Regions from separate parts of the Homo sapiens genome. Here region 2 is linked to region 1. Evidence: promoter capture Hi-C in 16 types of primary human blood cells and fetal thymus (Javierre and others, 2016). All regions are on one chromosome and are shown on one strand. Each heading gives the region's core, a stretch centred on a gene start or on the middle of the fragment in contact. The rest is flanking DNA. Distances are from core to core; before and after follow the strand shown.

The links. Contacts are between HindIII fragments. The CHiCAGO score rates a contact against its expected background, and 5 or more counts as called.
Region 2: a contact is called between a fragment that was not itself captured here and the fragment with the promoter of ARPP19 in region 1, in 6 of 17 cell types (endothelial precursors, fetal thymus, M1 macrophages and 3 more). The highest score is 6.5, in endothelial precursors.

Annotation. Positions count from the first base shown.
Region 1 is chr15:52,565,217-52,571,843 of GRCh38, reverse strand. It overlaps ARPP19 (cAMP regulated phosphoprotein 19), which reads left to right and starts at 2,814. Exons shown (of 3, transcript NM_006628.6): 1 at 2,814-2,996. The coding sequence starts at 2,952. RefSeq lists enhancers at 2,285-2,414, 2,468-3,214, 3,215-3,963 and silencers at 2,885-2,944, 3,015-3,114. The HindIII fragment of the contact is 6,860 bases long and covers 2,130-6,627 here.
Region 2 is chr15:52,252,223-52,258,849 of GRCh38, reverse strand. MYO5C (myosin VC) reads left to right here. Exons shown (of 41, transcript NM_018728.4): 11 at 2,130-2,211; 12 at 5,393-5,533. Among named protein-coding and RNA genes, the nearest start is that of MIR1266, 22 kb to the left of the region's middle. RefSeq lists an enhancer at 957-1,533. The HindIII fragment of the contact is 2,236 bases long and covers 2,048-4,283 here.

The DNA of each region.
Region 1 (6,627 bases), core at 1,565-4,064:
CCAGGAGTTTGAGACCAGCCTGGCCAACATAGCAACACCCCGTCTTTACAAATTATTATTATTATTATTTGAAACAGTTTTGCTCTTGTTGCCCAGGCTGGAGTGCAGTGATATGATCTCAGCTCACTACAACCTCCATCTCCTAGGTTTGAGCAATTCTCCTGCCTCAGCCTCCCAAGTAGCTGGGATTACAGGTGCCCACCACCATGCCCAGCTGATTTTTGTATTTTTAGTAGAGATGGTTTTACCACGTTGGCCAGGCTGGTCTCGAACTCCTGACCTCAAGTGATCCACCCGCCTCGGCCTCCCAAAGTGCTGGGATTACAGGTGTGAGCCACCGTGCCAGGCCTACAATTATTAAAAATACAAAAATTAGCCGGGCATGGTGGCATGTGCCTGTGGTCCCAGCTACTTGGGAAGCTGAGGCAGGAGAATCACTTGAACCTAGAAGGCAGATTGCAGTGAGCTGAGATGGTGCCACTGCACCCCAGCCTGGGTGGCAGAGTGACACTTTGTTTCAAAAAAGAAAAAAAACTATGAAGGTGGAAGTTATTTCCTGGAGGCTGTGTAAACATAGAAGAGAAGGAGATCCAAGGACAGAACTGTTAGAATCCTCCCATTAAGAGGCAGGTTAAGATTCAACAGGGAGGTTAAGTAGGAGGAAATCCATGAGACAATAGTATCCTGGAGATCAAGAGAAGGAAGTTTTGACAAACAGGGTGCTGGGGACCAGTGTGCAGTTTTACACATTAAGGTTCATAATGATGCAGAGTGGTGTTAGTTGGGAAAGAATGGCTTTCCAGACAGGTCCTCATTGTGGAGCATTGCCCATGGTGAATTCTCCATTTGACCAAAGTCTGCCCCCAGAAATTCAAACTTCCCCTTCTGCGAGTGTCACTATCAGAAACAGATTCTTTTTATCCAAGGTCACATAGCCAATTTTAAAAAAAAGGCCAGATGTGGTGGCTCGCTCCTATAATCCCAGCACTTTGGGAGGCCGAGGCGGGTGGATCACTTGAGGCCGGGAGTTCGAGACCAGCCTGGACAACACGGCAAAACCCTGTCTCTACTAAAAATACAAAAAATTATCAGGGTGTGGTGGTGGGCAACTGTAATCCCAGCTACTTGGGAGGCAGAGGCAGGAGAATTGCTTGAACCCAGGAAGTGGAGGTTGCAGTGAGCCGAGATTGTGCCATTGCACTCCAGCCTGGGTGACAGAGTTGAGACTCTGTCTCAAAAAGAAAAAGAAAAAAAAGTTTTTTTTCTTTTTGTAGAGACAGAGATTTGCCATGTTGGCCAGGCTGGTCTTGAACTCCTGAGCTCGAGCGATTTGCCCGCCTTGGCCTCCCAAAGTGCTGGGATTACGAGTGAGCCACTGTGCCCAGCCACAGCCAATTTTCTTGAGGCTGAGTTTCATCATTAAGTGTATGTCTATCAGATTTTAACTCAAGTTCACAAATACATTGATATAGGACATATACTAGAACGTCAGTCAATTTATTAATAAAAATACAACTGTTAAATGCTTCAGTGGCCTAACTACTGCACTCTTCTTTCTCTCTGCAGTTCTGCTTAAGGGAAAGGCAAATTTTCAGTATGTTACTTTGTGAGTATAGAAGGAGAACAAATATGTCGTGGATCTTACAGTTTCTCAGCTAGCCCAGCGTGAGACATTCTTAAGGGATATCTTTGTCAAACAGTTGGCCTGTTGAACCCTTTTATTTTCAATACTTCCTTGGCTGACAAATGCCTTCCTTCGTTTCTCCAAAAGGAGTGCAATATTAACTCTTTTTGTTTTTCTAGTTGCAATTCCAGTGCAATTCTTCCTGTCTGAGATTCTACATCCTGGTTGAGTTTCGATGGTTTCCAAATTCCTTATCCAGGCATTTAGGGTCTTTCAATTGTTCCCCTGCCCCCAGAAATGCATTCATTTTCTGTGGCTTTTTACTAGTTTAACTTTTAGAGGGCAATCTTATTTCCAAGTTTCTGAGGGACACTTTGTTGGAACCAACAAACATTGCGAGTAACTATTCAGATATCAAGTAGAATGAGGATTCAGTAAGAAGCCGCAGGACTTGGCAAATAAAAAGGTCATTGGGGGAGCTCAATGCTAGCAGTTTCGGTAAGCTTGTGGGAGTGGACCCCCTGGGAGTGGACAAATGAATCTGAATTCCTTCGTTAGATATCTAGGAAGTGCTGGACCCTCAGAGTAAAATATAAGTAATTACAGACGAGATCCCTGCCCTGGTGCGGCTTATCTGAGAAGGAAAGGTGACCTAAAGTCACGACAATTGTGTAATGATACAGTTCATGTTGTTGAGGAACTGTACAGGGCTGTGACAGCCTTTAAGAGGTGGCTCTGGCCTAGTGTAGAGGTTTAGGAAGGAAAGGTTCTGAGGCAGAGACGTAGGACTGGAGATGTGAAGGCGTGGCAGAGTGGAGCAAGACTTTTGGCGTGCCCAAAAGACAGCCTGTGTGGCTACAGAGCGGAGAGCGAGGAGAACAGAACTAGGCGAGGATGGGTAAGTGGAAAGAGTAAAATAAAGCTCCTAGAACGAGGGGACCAGAGTGGACAGGAAAGGGCGGGGAGGGGCGGTTCCACTTAGAAACTACAATTCCCAGGAAGCACTCGGCAGCCACAAACGGATGTGAGGTGAGGCAGGAGCGGCGACCTTTGAAGGAAAAAAGGAAGTGTTTGGACGACAGCGAGCGGGAGAAGCGGGGTCAAGTAGGTAGGGGTGCGGTGCGGGAGGGGCAGGCGGGCTCCGGCGTGCGAGGGCCTTGGCCAGCGGAGCGTTTCGCGGCTCCGTGTCGTCATAAGGCGGCGGCCATTTTCGCGGGCGGAGGCGGCCCGGCGGGCCCTGGGAGAGCTGGGACGGGCGGCGGCCGGGTGGCCTCGGCCACCCGCTAATTGCATCTTTTCCCGGCGTCTCGTCTGCAGAGGGAGCACTATGTCTGCGGAAGTCCCCGAGGCAGCCTCCGCGGAGGAGCAGAAGGTGAGCGCGCGGGGCGTGAGCCCTGGGCCCTGCCCAAGGCCGGGTCTGGCGGGCGGCCTGCTCCCGCCAGGCGGAGGGCCGCGCCCGAGATGCGGGGCCGAGGCGCATGAGGCCGAGGCTCCTGCGCCCCACCTTTGGCTTCCCGCCGTCGCTGGCTGGTGCGCCGACGAATTGGGAGTTCCAACGTGCCCCGCGTTTACTCCGAATCGTGCCTTTTGTAACACCTCCGTGGGTCGCGGTGTTCCTCAGTCACTTATATTTACGCGAGAGCCCAGGACGCAGGCTTTGGGCGTAGAGCCTAAGTTTTTCTGTAAGCCTCAATTTGGTTAGGAAGTTTTATTTTTTCCTTTGAAGAACTCTCCAACTACTTGTATTGTGAGCGTGCGGTTCACTCCAAAAGCAGTGCCTCGTGTGCGGGCCGCGATGTGGGCCAGGATTGGCATTTCAGGGCCAACCCTTGTAACCATGGTCAGTGAGTAAAGTCCGGCCTTCAGTGTCTTCACCTGTAAAGGCCGAATACTGGTGCTTGCCTCCCACGGCGGGGTGAGGCCTAGAGGAGGTGAGTCAGGTGTAGTGTGCAGCGCAGTCTGTGCTCAAAAAGGTTTCAGTCGATGGGACTCAAATATGGTACTTGACTAAAAATCGAAAGGGTGGAATTTTAAAATTTTACTCACGAAATTAATCAGGGTTTTATTGGAAACAGGAATATTTTGTAAACGCCCTTGTGTCTTCCTGATGTAGGGGAATAGGCCGGGAGTGTCACTGTGGTTCAAATTATGAATATCAAGCCTTTGTATTTATCTAGGCTGGTGTTTGTCTCTCCCACTGTAATTATTTCCACCGCCCTGCCCTCCTAGGCAGGTGTGACTGGCCGAGAAGTGAGAAAGGGCCGAGGTATCTTGTCTCCTAAATTGTTTATCAACAATTTTTCTTACAAATCAGGTTGTGTTGCCGTTAAATACGATTTTGGTCTACTGCTTGACCTTCGTGCGGGTTTCTGCTTAATGTTGCACTTATGTCCTAATTAAGTTGGGAATTGGATTAGTGTTCTAAGCCCATTCCATATGTTCTTAAAACCGTGTTAACTTTTCTTAAGTTGGGTGCTTCTGTTAGGATGTTAAAGTAATTGAAAAACAAGAAAACATATAGCATAGGTAAAAGTCCAAGTTACCACATTATTTGAGAATATCCCGTGAAAATAGATATATTTACGCATTACCAAAAAAATGGATTTTGGGGGCAAAAATACAAATATTAAAGTTTGCAATCTTAACAGTATTATTAAGTATCACCTGCTTATTGTAAAATGCGTATTGTGTTCATTATTGCTTGAAATTTAGGAGCCCCCAAAAATAACAAGTCCCTGTCTGTGGTGGTTTGCCTTAAACACTTACATCAAACTTAGCATTAACTTCTGGTGCACAGTAGTGTGCTATGTAATTTTCTTTGATAAGTTCTGTTAGTATGTTGCCAAAGTATGCAGTATTGACTTCTAGAGTGTAAATACTTTTACTTGGAAAAGCCTAATGTATCTTTTAACAATATTAAGGATAGCTTGAACGTTTTCTCTTATTGATTGTCTACATTAAACATTTAAGGTGCTTTGGTTTTAGCTGCTGTCATTAAAATCAACCAAAGTGTGTTAGGAATATAATGTTCCTTCTTAAATTGAGGATTGGCTGTAAATGCTAAGTGCCTGTGGCGTGGATGGTGTCCCTAACCATGAAGAAAATGTGCACAGTCACTTCTGTGTTCCTGTGGGCCAAATCACCTGTTTCTTCTATTTGGAAGATCAGTTCGATGACCTAAAAAATTAAGTTATTGTCTGTGTACCCAATTGACCTTCCACTTAAAGCCAAAGTATTCAGCTAAAAATACCTTTATAGTTTACTGGTAGGTTGCCTGTTGCCGCTAAAGAATTAAGGTAGATAGCTGGGCCTTGCATGGAGTAAAAGCTAAGTCACTTTCTCTATCTTGAGTGGTGTGTGCACCCTTGGTAAGAGAAGAAAACCAGATAGATTCCTGTCTTGTATTAGGAAACAATATGTACAAACATAAAAAATAAGTATAAACTCTTATCTCTTAACTTGTATACCACTCTAAGACTAAAACAGCCAGGCGTGGTGGCTCTTGCCTATAATTCTGGCACTTTGGGAGGCTGAGGCAGGAGGATTGCTTGAGGCCAGGAGTTTGAGACCAGCCTGGTCAACATAGTAAGATTCTGTCTCTACAAAATAAAATAAAATAAAATAAAAATTAGCCAGGTGTGGTGGCATGTCTGTAGGCCTGTAGTCCCAGCTACTTGGGAGGCTGAGGTGGGAGGATCACTTGAGACCAGGAGTTCGAGGCTACAGTGAGCTACTTTTAAAATATTTTTTAAAAATTTAAAAGGCCTGTGCTGTGGCTCACAGCTGTAATCCCAGCACTTTGGGAGGTCATGGCGAGTGGATCACTTGAAGCCAGGAGTTGAAGACCAGCCTGGCCAACACGGTGAAACCCTGTCTTTACTAAAAGTACAAAAACTAGCCAGGCATGGTGGCCCACACCTATAATCCCAGCTACTCGGGAGACTGAGGCATAAGAATTGCTTGAACCCAGGAGGCAGAGGTTGCAGTGAGCTGAGATCATACCACTGTACTCCTGCCTGGGCAACAGAACAAGATTCTGTGTCAGAAAATAAATAAAATAAAATTTGGCCGGGCACGGTGGCTCACACCTGTAATCCCAGCGCTTTGGGAGGCCGAGGCTGGCGGATCATGAGGTCAGGAGTTCGATACCAGCCTGGCCAATATGGGGAAACCCCCTCTCTACTAAAAAATACAAAAATTATCCGGGTGTGGTGGCACGCACCTGTAGTTCCAGCTACTCAGGAGGCTGAGGCAGGAGAATTGCTTGAACCTGGGAGGCGGAGGGTGCAGTTAGCCGAGATCGTGCCACTGCACTCTAGCCTGGGCAACAGAGTGAGACTGCATCTCAAAAAAATAAAATAAAATTTAAACTAAAACAGATTAAATACAACAAAGCCAGTCTAAATTTTTGATTGTGTGCTTGGTATTTTGCTGAAACTAAATTTCCAATGTATTTGGAATATGGCAGCAATTGTTAAAAGTTGAGGGAGTTTTTGAGTTTGTCAAGTAAACACTCCCCTAGGCCATGTGGTGGCTCAGTTCCCCTTTTAAGAGTAAACTATGAGGTCACTAAGTTTCCAGAGTCATAGATACAATCACATTTTAAGTTCAGCTCCATTCTTTTCTCATTTTCTTGGACAGTTGGAGTAACCTGCTGAGTCTTTGTCAAAGAAAGCTCAGATGCAGAACCCACATAGCACTACTTAGATGCAACGTGGTGATTCAGATTCCCCAGAATATGCTTATATTTGCCTTTGAGATAACCACTGAAGTGAAAACAAAACATTTAAAAGTTTTGAGTACAGATCTCATGAATCTATCAGCAGTAAGCTAAGGCATGTGTACTAGTCCTGGAGGGGAGAAGAGGCAAGTGGAAACTTAAAACAGATAATTCTGGCCCTACAGGGTGGCTCTTGCCTGTAATCCCAGCACTTTGGGAAGCCAAGGTGGGAAGATCGCTTGAGGCCAGGAGTTTGAGACCGGCCTGGGCAACATAGCAAAAC
Region 2 (6,627 bases), core at 1,916-4,415, 310 kb after region 1:
TATGTGGAAAAACCTGAGACAAGAGTATTTATAAATACACAAAGACTTGTTAGAGTAAATTATTTTAAGATTCCTCTCAAAAATTCTAACAATAGCCTGTTTGCTGCCACCCTTGAGTTCATGATACGCCTCCAAAAAAATCAGCTTTCCTCTAGGCAGCAGGGCTGCAGCCTGGGGCCAAGCCTTTCCCGCCCCCTCCAGCAGCCTCGCTTCTAGGCTAACCCTCGCCTAGGCATACCTGCAACTTTTGAGAAAGCTCTTTTTGACTTGGAAATAAGGAAGCCTCAAAGGAAGACTTAGCATCTTTGAAAGCCAGTAAAGCTGAAGCTGTGAGCTTCAAGGTCTAAGCTGAGAGTGAATGAAGGCTGGTGACTCCCCAGCCTGTCGTGTATTTATGTTCTTTGGACCCAGAGTTGGAAAAACCTGGGTCTGGGGGTCAGACCCCTGGGAATGAGCTCCGTAGCATACCAGTTACGTGACCTCAAGAAAGTCACAGAACCTCTCCAAGCCTTAGTTTCTGCATCTACAAGATGGGGCCTCTCTTGCAGGGTGATTTTGAACATATGATGGAAGAAATTATGCAGGTACCTTGAAAACCATAAGCATGGTTCCAGTGTGAAGTGTTTTCATAGCCAATGTGCCTCTAGCATTTTAAGTCACAGATCTAGGTCTTTCCATGGGTCCTAAACTTCAGATTTTTGTGCCCCAAAATAATGCATTGATGTTTGACATTTTGCCAGGTTCTAGAAAGCCCTGCCCTTGGCCCCAGCTGTGAGCTGCAGAGCTCAGTGAGACCCTTTTTAATCTTCCCCCAGGCCCAGCCCTGGCCTTGCTTCCATGAGCAGACCAGCCTCCGAATCTCTGAGCCACCAAGGCTGCGTGTGGAATGGGGCTGTCAGAGCTGCTATGAATCACCCTGGAGCTGTCTAGAGGACAGTCCAGGTTCTTACCCTGCCCAGGAATTCCAGATTGAGCCAAACCAGCTCAGTCAAGTGAGACTCCCAGGGGACCTGTGATAGGAGCCGGCAGGAACCTCTCAGGATTAGAGCGATTAAGAACAAAGCTTTGGAGGCACCAAGCACTGGGGTCGAATTGCATTTCTGGCACCACTTGCTGGCTGTTGGTCCTCACCATGGTCACTCCTTCTCTGACCCTCGTGTGTGACAGTGGAGTCACAGGAGCCCTTCACATAGGGCTGTGTTAGGGTTATAGGAGGTGACGTGCATAAATGCTGACACCTTAAAAGTGCTCAGCAAGCTGCCTTCCAGCAGGAGCTCATCTGGCCAGGTGGTAAATTTGGTGCCTCTGTTTTGTTCGGCCCACGTTTTGCAGAGTGGGATTATTCACTTAAAAGTCCCAGTTTTCTGACTTTTCTTAAGAATCAATTAATCTAACATCCTGGGCCGCATTCATCCATGGCTACATCCGGCAGGAGCTGAGTAGCAGCTGCCTCCCCAAGGGCTCCTCTCAGTTCTTGAGCTTGCAACTCCAAGGCAACTGCAGAGGCAGCTGATGAAAGTCTGAATATGGAAGCCAGCCATGTCTGTCTCGTCCCTGATGGGGTGTGCTGGGCTGTAGGATATGAAATGACTTTGCCCTTTTCCTCTAGGAGCTATGAAAGCACCCCTTAGGGAGGCAAAATTGTGCTGCAGTTGTGCTGCTCCTCCCCTCAACAGACAAGGAGAGAATAGGAAACCACATTGCCTTCTCATTGGAGGCACAGGCATCACAGTCAGGCAGCTTCGCAGCTAAGTTCTGACACAAGCTGTGTGACCTTTGGCAAGTTTCTTAACCTCTCGGGCTTATTTTCTGACCTATAAAGTCAGAATAATAATTGCCAATATCACTGTTGTTGTGCGGACTACACCATATGGTGACATGCTTATTTTAATGCCTGGCTTGAGGTAGGTGTTTTATACCTACCAGATTTCTTCCGGGGGACAACCAGGAAAAGGGTTATTTATAAACTGACTACTAGGATATCATTAAAACCAGAAGCTTTGAGGGGTATTTAAAACTTGTAGAAGACATAGCAAACGTTTAAGCTTTTAAGTGTCAAAAAATATCTATAAACAAATGCATATGTCTTGCTTCAGGTTATATTTTAACTTGTTTAAATTGTATTTCAGTTTTGAAACCTTTGATGTGAACAGCTTTGAACAATTTTGCATCAATTACGCTAATGAAAAACTGCAACAACAGTTTAACATGGTAGGTGACCTTTCTGCCTTCTTGACTAGTTCTCAGCCGCGCGCGCGCGCGTGTGTGTGTGTGTGTGTGTGTGTGTTCGTGGAAAGAGGCATTCTTCTTTCTTGAGGTTGCAAATTTTTATGCAAGGAGCCTCACGCTGGGTCACTGCACCACCTTGTGGCCAAATCTTGAAATCACACCCTCTCATCTATTTCATCTTTTTTGAATCACCTGCCAATGTGTGAGCCTCACTGCCCTTCTTGGATACAGACCCTCTGTGCAGCCAGACAAAACTATTTAGTTGGTTGCCTGAGGCCTCCACTTTCTTTCGAGCCTCTCTGTCTTTGCACTTGCTGCTTTCTCTGCCTTAACCCACGTGCTCCTGTTATTTCCCCATTGCTTTATCTTCACGTGGCCAACTCCAGCTTGTGTTTTGAGATCCAGCTTCCCTGAGAGCCTCCTGCGATACCTCCTGGCCTCTTCCTATGTGCTTCCTTATCGCAGGCCTGTCACATGGAATTATCATCATTTGCATGCAAGTTTCCAAATAGACTTGGTCACCTGGAGAGGCCAGGACTGGCATTCTTTGTCTCTCTCAGCCCAGTGCTTATCTCGGCACATGCAGCACTAAACAGCAGATGGCCAATGGATTATGGGAATGAGTTTCTCCAACCTTAATTTAGAACAAGACATATATGGTACCTTCCTAACTAACAATAAGATCAAATGTATCATCCCATGGAAACAGACAGGAGATGGATTCCAATTTTTTTTTTCCACTGGGAAGATTTGTTTATTCAAAAGACGTTTTTGAGTGTATACTGTGTATACCAGGTACCAAGTTAAGTGCTGAGGTAGAAAGATGAATAAAACAATTTAAAAAATGTTGAGTAAATGCTACTTGTGGCTGTTTGGGCATTTATTATTGCTATGTGTATTGAATACAATTTCAACCTCTTAAATCAGTTCCCTAGATGCAAGAACTTTATTGAATTCACTTTTGAATTCCCAACAGTACTGACGCCTTTCTGCTCCTAACAGAAGTCAATGAAATTAAAAGTTGATTGAACATCTTTCTACATTGGCCCTACCATGAAACTACTCTCATATTTTTTTTATAATTGCCTCCTTAACATTTATATTTGGCTCTGTTTCTGAAAAGCCATGAAAGCTAAAATGCTTTACTAACTCACATTTTCCCTTTAGCTTACATTCTAAACTTTGGCTACATGTTTATGGGAAGAATGGTGATTCCAGTTCATAATAGAAATCACACTTTAATACCCTAACAGTTACTCCAAGGAAAGGTTATACCTTTGTTAGTGTCCAGTCTTATGCTCCCTCAGAACCCCTGAGGAAAACATAGCATGACGTCTTGGAGAGTGTGGGCTTTGGCTCAAACTAAATTGGGTTTGAATCTCAGCTCTACCACCTCCCTCTGGGACCTTGGGTTCTCTGAGCCTCTGTTTCCTTGTTTTAAAAATGAGTCATCATTACACATTGTATGTATGTGTCAGAATATCACATGTACCACAAAACTATGTACAACTATTATGTATCAATTTAAAAAGAGTCAATAATAACTGTCTAATATTGTGAGAAGACCTAACATTGAATCCTACTCAGTAGAAGTTTCTTTTTTTTTTTTTGGCCCAGAATTAATTCATGTATAACCATTAAATTTCATTCCATTGTAAATTTCATTTCTTTAGCATTTGCAAGGCTCTCCTGGAAGTTTAACATTAATAACTACAGCTGAGGTTTATTCCAAGTGCATATTCAGTATAACTCACCTGAAGTCAAACTCTCTGTGGCTGCTACCCTGTTCCCTGGCTGCAATGGCGTGCTGCTCCCCAACATGTCCACCTTAACCTCAAAGTGACACTTATACCAGATGTCTTGCCAAAAATCACAAATCAGAGGCTGTAATTCTATTTTTTTTTTTTTGCTTTTGTTCTCCTCTCCTGTTCTTCTTCCTCTTCCACTTCCTCCTCCTTCTCTTCCTTTTTCCTCTTCTCCTTTTTCTGAGTCATCCATCAATGTGTAGATCCTCCCAGGAGGGGTAGTATCTTCAATTGTCAGCACAGAAAGCTTTGGGTAGGACTCTCCTGATCTCCAGTCCCCCTCTTCTGGCTGCCACTGGGCCTTGCACCTGATGCCCCCAGGGAGCTCAGCAGTAGCAAGTGTAGAAGTGCCGGTGCCACCTTCTCCTCTCAGCCCGCTTACCCTCCACGTGACTTTCTGTGGTCAAGTCACGCCATGGACCCCATGTCCTGAGCCTGACATTCATCCTGACCTCTTCGCTCCTCTTCCTCCTCCCTGAGTCCCAGCCATCAAGAGCATCGGGCTGAGTCCTCATTGGTCTCACTGCCTCCGGTTCTTCCCTCCTCTGAGCCATCCTCCAGGTCTCATCATAACCCCTCCGCCCTCCAGCGGGTCCTCACTGCTCCTAGAAAAAGGCCATAGGCCCAGAATTCTCTAAGGAGGGTGTGAAGGTCTCAGGTGATTTGACTGTACCATTCTTTGCCACCACATTGCTGCTGTCCTCCTGTAATTTCTAACCTGCTTGAGGTGCGTTTCTCAAGCACCCATTGAGCTTTCATGTGGTTCCCACTGGGATTCCTCCATAGGAGGGTTTTCTTGATGCCCCACCCCACCCCACCCTACCCCACCTCACCACCTGCCAGCCAAACTTTCTTTCATCCTCCATGGTAAGCCTGAGTACATCCTCTGGGAAGCCTCCCTGATACCCTTACAGCCCAAGTGAGTAGTGCACGAAGATCTCTAAGCAGTGGGCTTCTCCCACCGGCCCCGCAGCTAGCATTCTCAGGTAGCTGGCTCCACCCAGCCAGGCTGCATTAGGCCAAAGAGGCTGGATCTGTCCTTGGATAGCTGCTAGCAGGAAGGGGCTGTAGGACCACACTGAGTACCATGTGGTGCTGGTGGTGACACAGGCTGGCCCAAGCCATGTCCTAGGAGGTAGAGACCCACTCAGACTAGGTGGGAGGATGACAGCTAGACTCGCTTTAGGAACTCGGCGGTATTGATCACGGTATGGGCCTTGTCTATACTTCAGGGTCCTTCTTTTTAAACATAAATATTACAGATCAACCATTTACATTTTCCAAATGCTTACATCCTGCTCTTTGGAAACGTATTTTAATATTCTGTTTTACTTTCTGTATTAACTTTGGATTCCCAGCATGTCTTCAAACTGGAACAAGAAGAATACATGAAGGAAGATATACCTTGGACGCTGATAGATTTTTATGACAATCAACCAGTTATTGACCTGATTGAAGCAAAAATGGGAATTCTGGAGTTACTGGATGAAGAATGTTTGGTAACTTTTAAGAATAATTGTTTTTTTCAGCTTTTAAGTAGTAACAGATGAGCATTTTGCAAAGCAGTTTTTTTGAAGTGTGCTTGTGAAGTCCTGATGTTTATCCAGTTGGTTGGATGGATATTAATGCTGGGACAGCATCCACAGCAGGGACCCCAGAGGGCCCACTGGGCCTTTTGCCCTCAGCCTGTGTAGACCACGCTTGGGGAGCTGCACCACCTCTTTTACCTGACTTCCAGCATGGAGGCTGTCCCAAAGTGTATGTAGAAACATGCATGAAAACAGCAAGTGACTCCACTCAAGTTGTCGGTGACTAATAAGAATTGAGTTTTCTTTTACATCCTGATTCTTGTGAGTCATCAAGAAAAATCAACATCGTATGATTCACCAGAAGAGCTTTCTAGAGTTTTCTTCTTACCATTTCCCTCTGGGAAACTCTGAAGTAGGCCAGCCTGGCAGTGTCTCTCATGGGGCCACAAGAACAAATAATCCCAAAGTGAGGATTAATAAGGTTTCGGGGTTAAAGGATTTTTTTTTTTTTTGAGACGGAGTCTTGCTCTATCACCCAGGCTGGAGTGCAGTGGTGCCATCTCGGCTCACTGCAACCTCCGCTTCCTGAGTTCAAGTGATTCTCCTGTTCCAGCCTCCGGAGTAGCTGGAATTATAGGCGCACACCACCATGCCCAGCTAATTTTTTGTATTTTTGGTAGAGACGGGGTTTCACCATGTTAGCCAGGATGGTCTGGATCTCCTGACCTCGTGATCCGCCTGCCTCGGCCTCCCAAAGTGCTGGGATTACAGGCATGAGCCACTGCGCCCGGCCAATTTTTGTATTTTTAGTAGAGATGGGGTTTCCATCTCAAAAAAAAAAAAATCACATGTATCAAGATCAAATTTCGCAACTAGCTTAGTACAAGGAGGTATGCCCTTATTTCAAGGAGTGAGTTAATTAGGAAGTAAAATAAGAAAAACTATTTTCCTGAGGCAGGGGAAGGGGAGGACTCTCTATTCAGGTGCCAGTCTTTTCCCATTCACCCGTGAATAAAGGTCATGTTCGTGTAATGGAACCCACACTATTTTTTCCTGAACCTTTA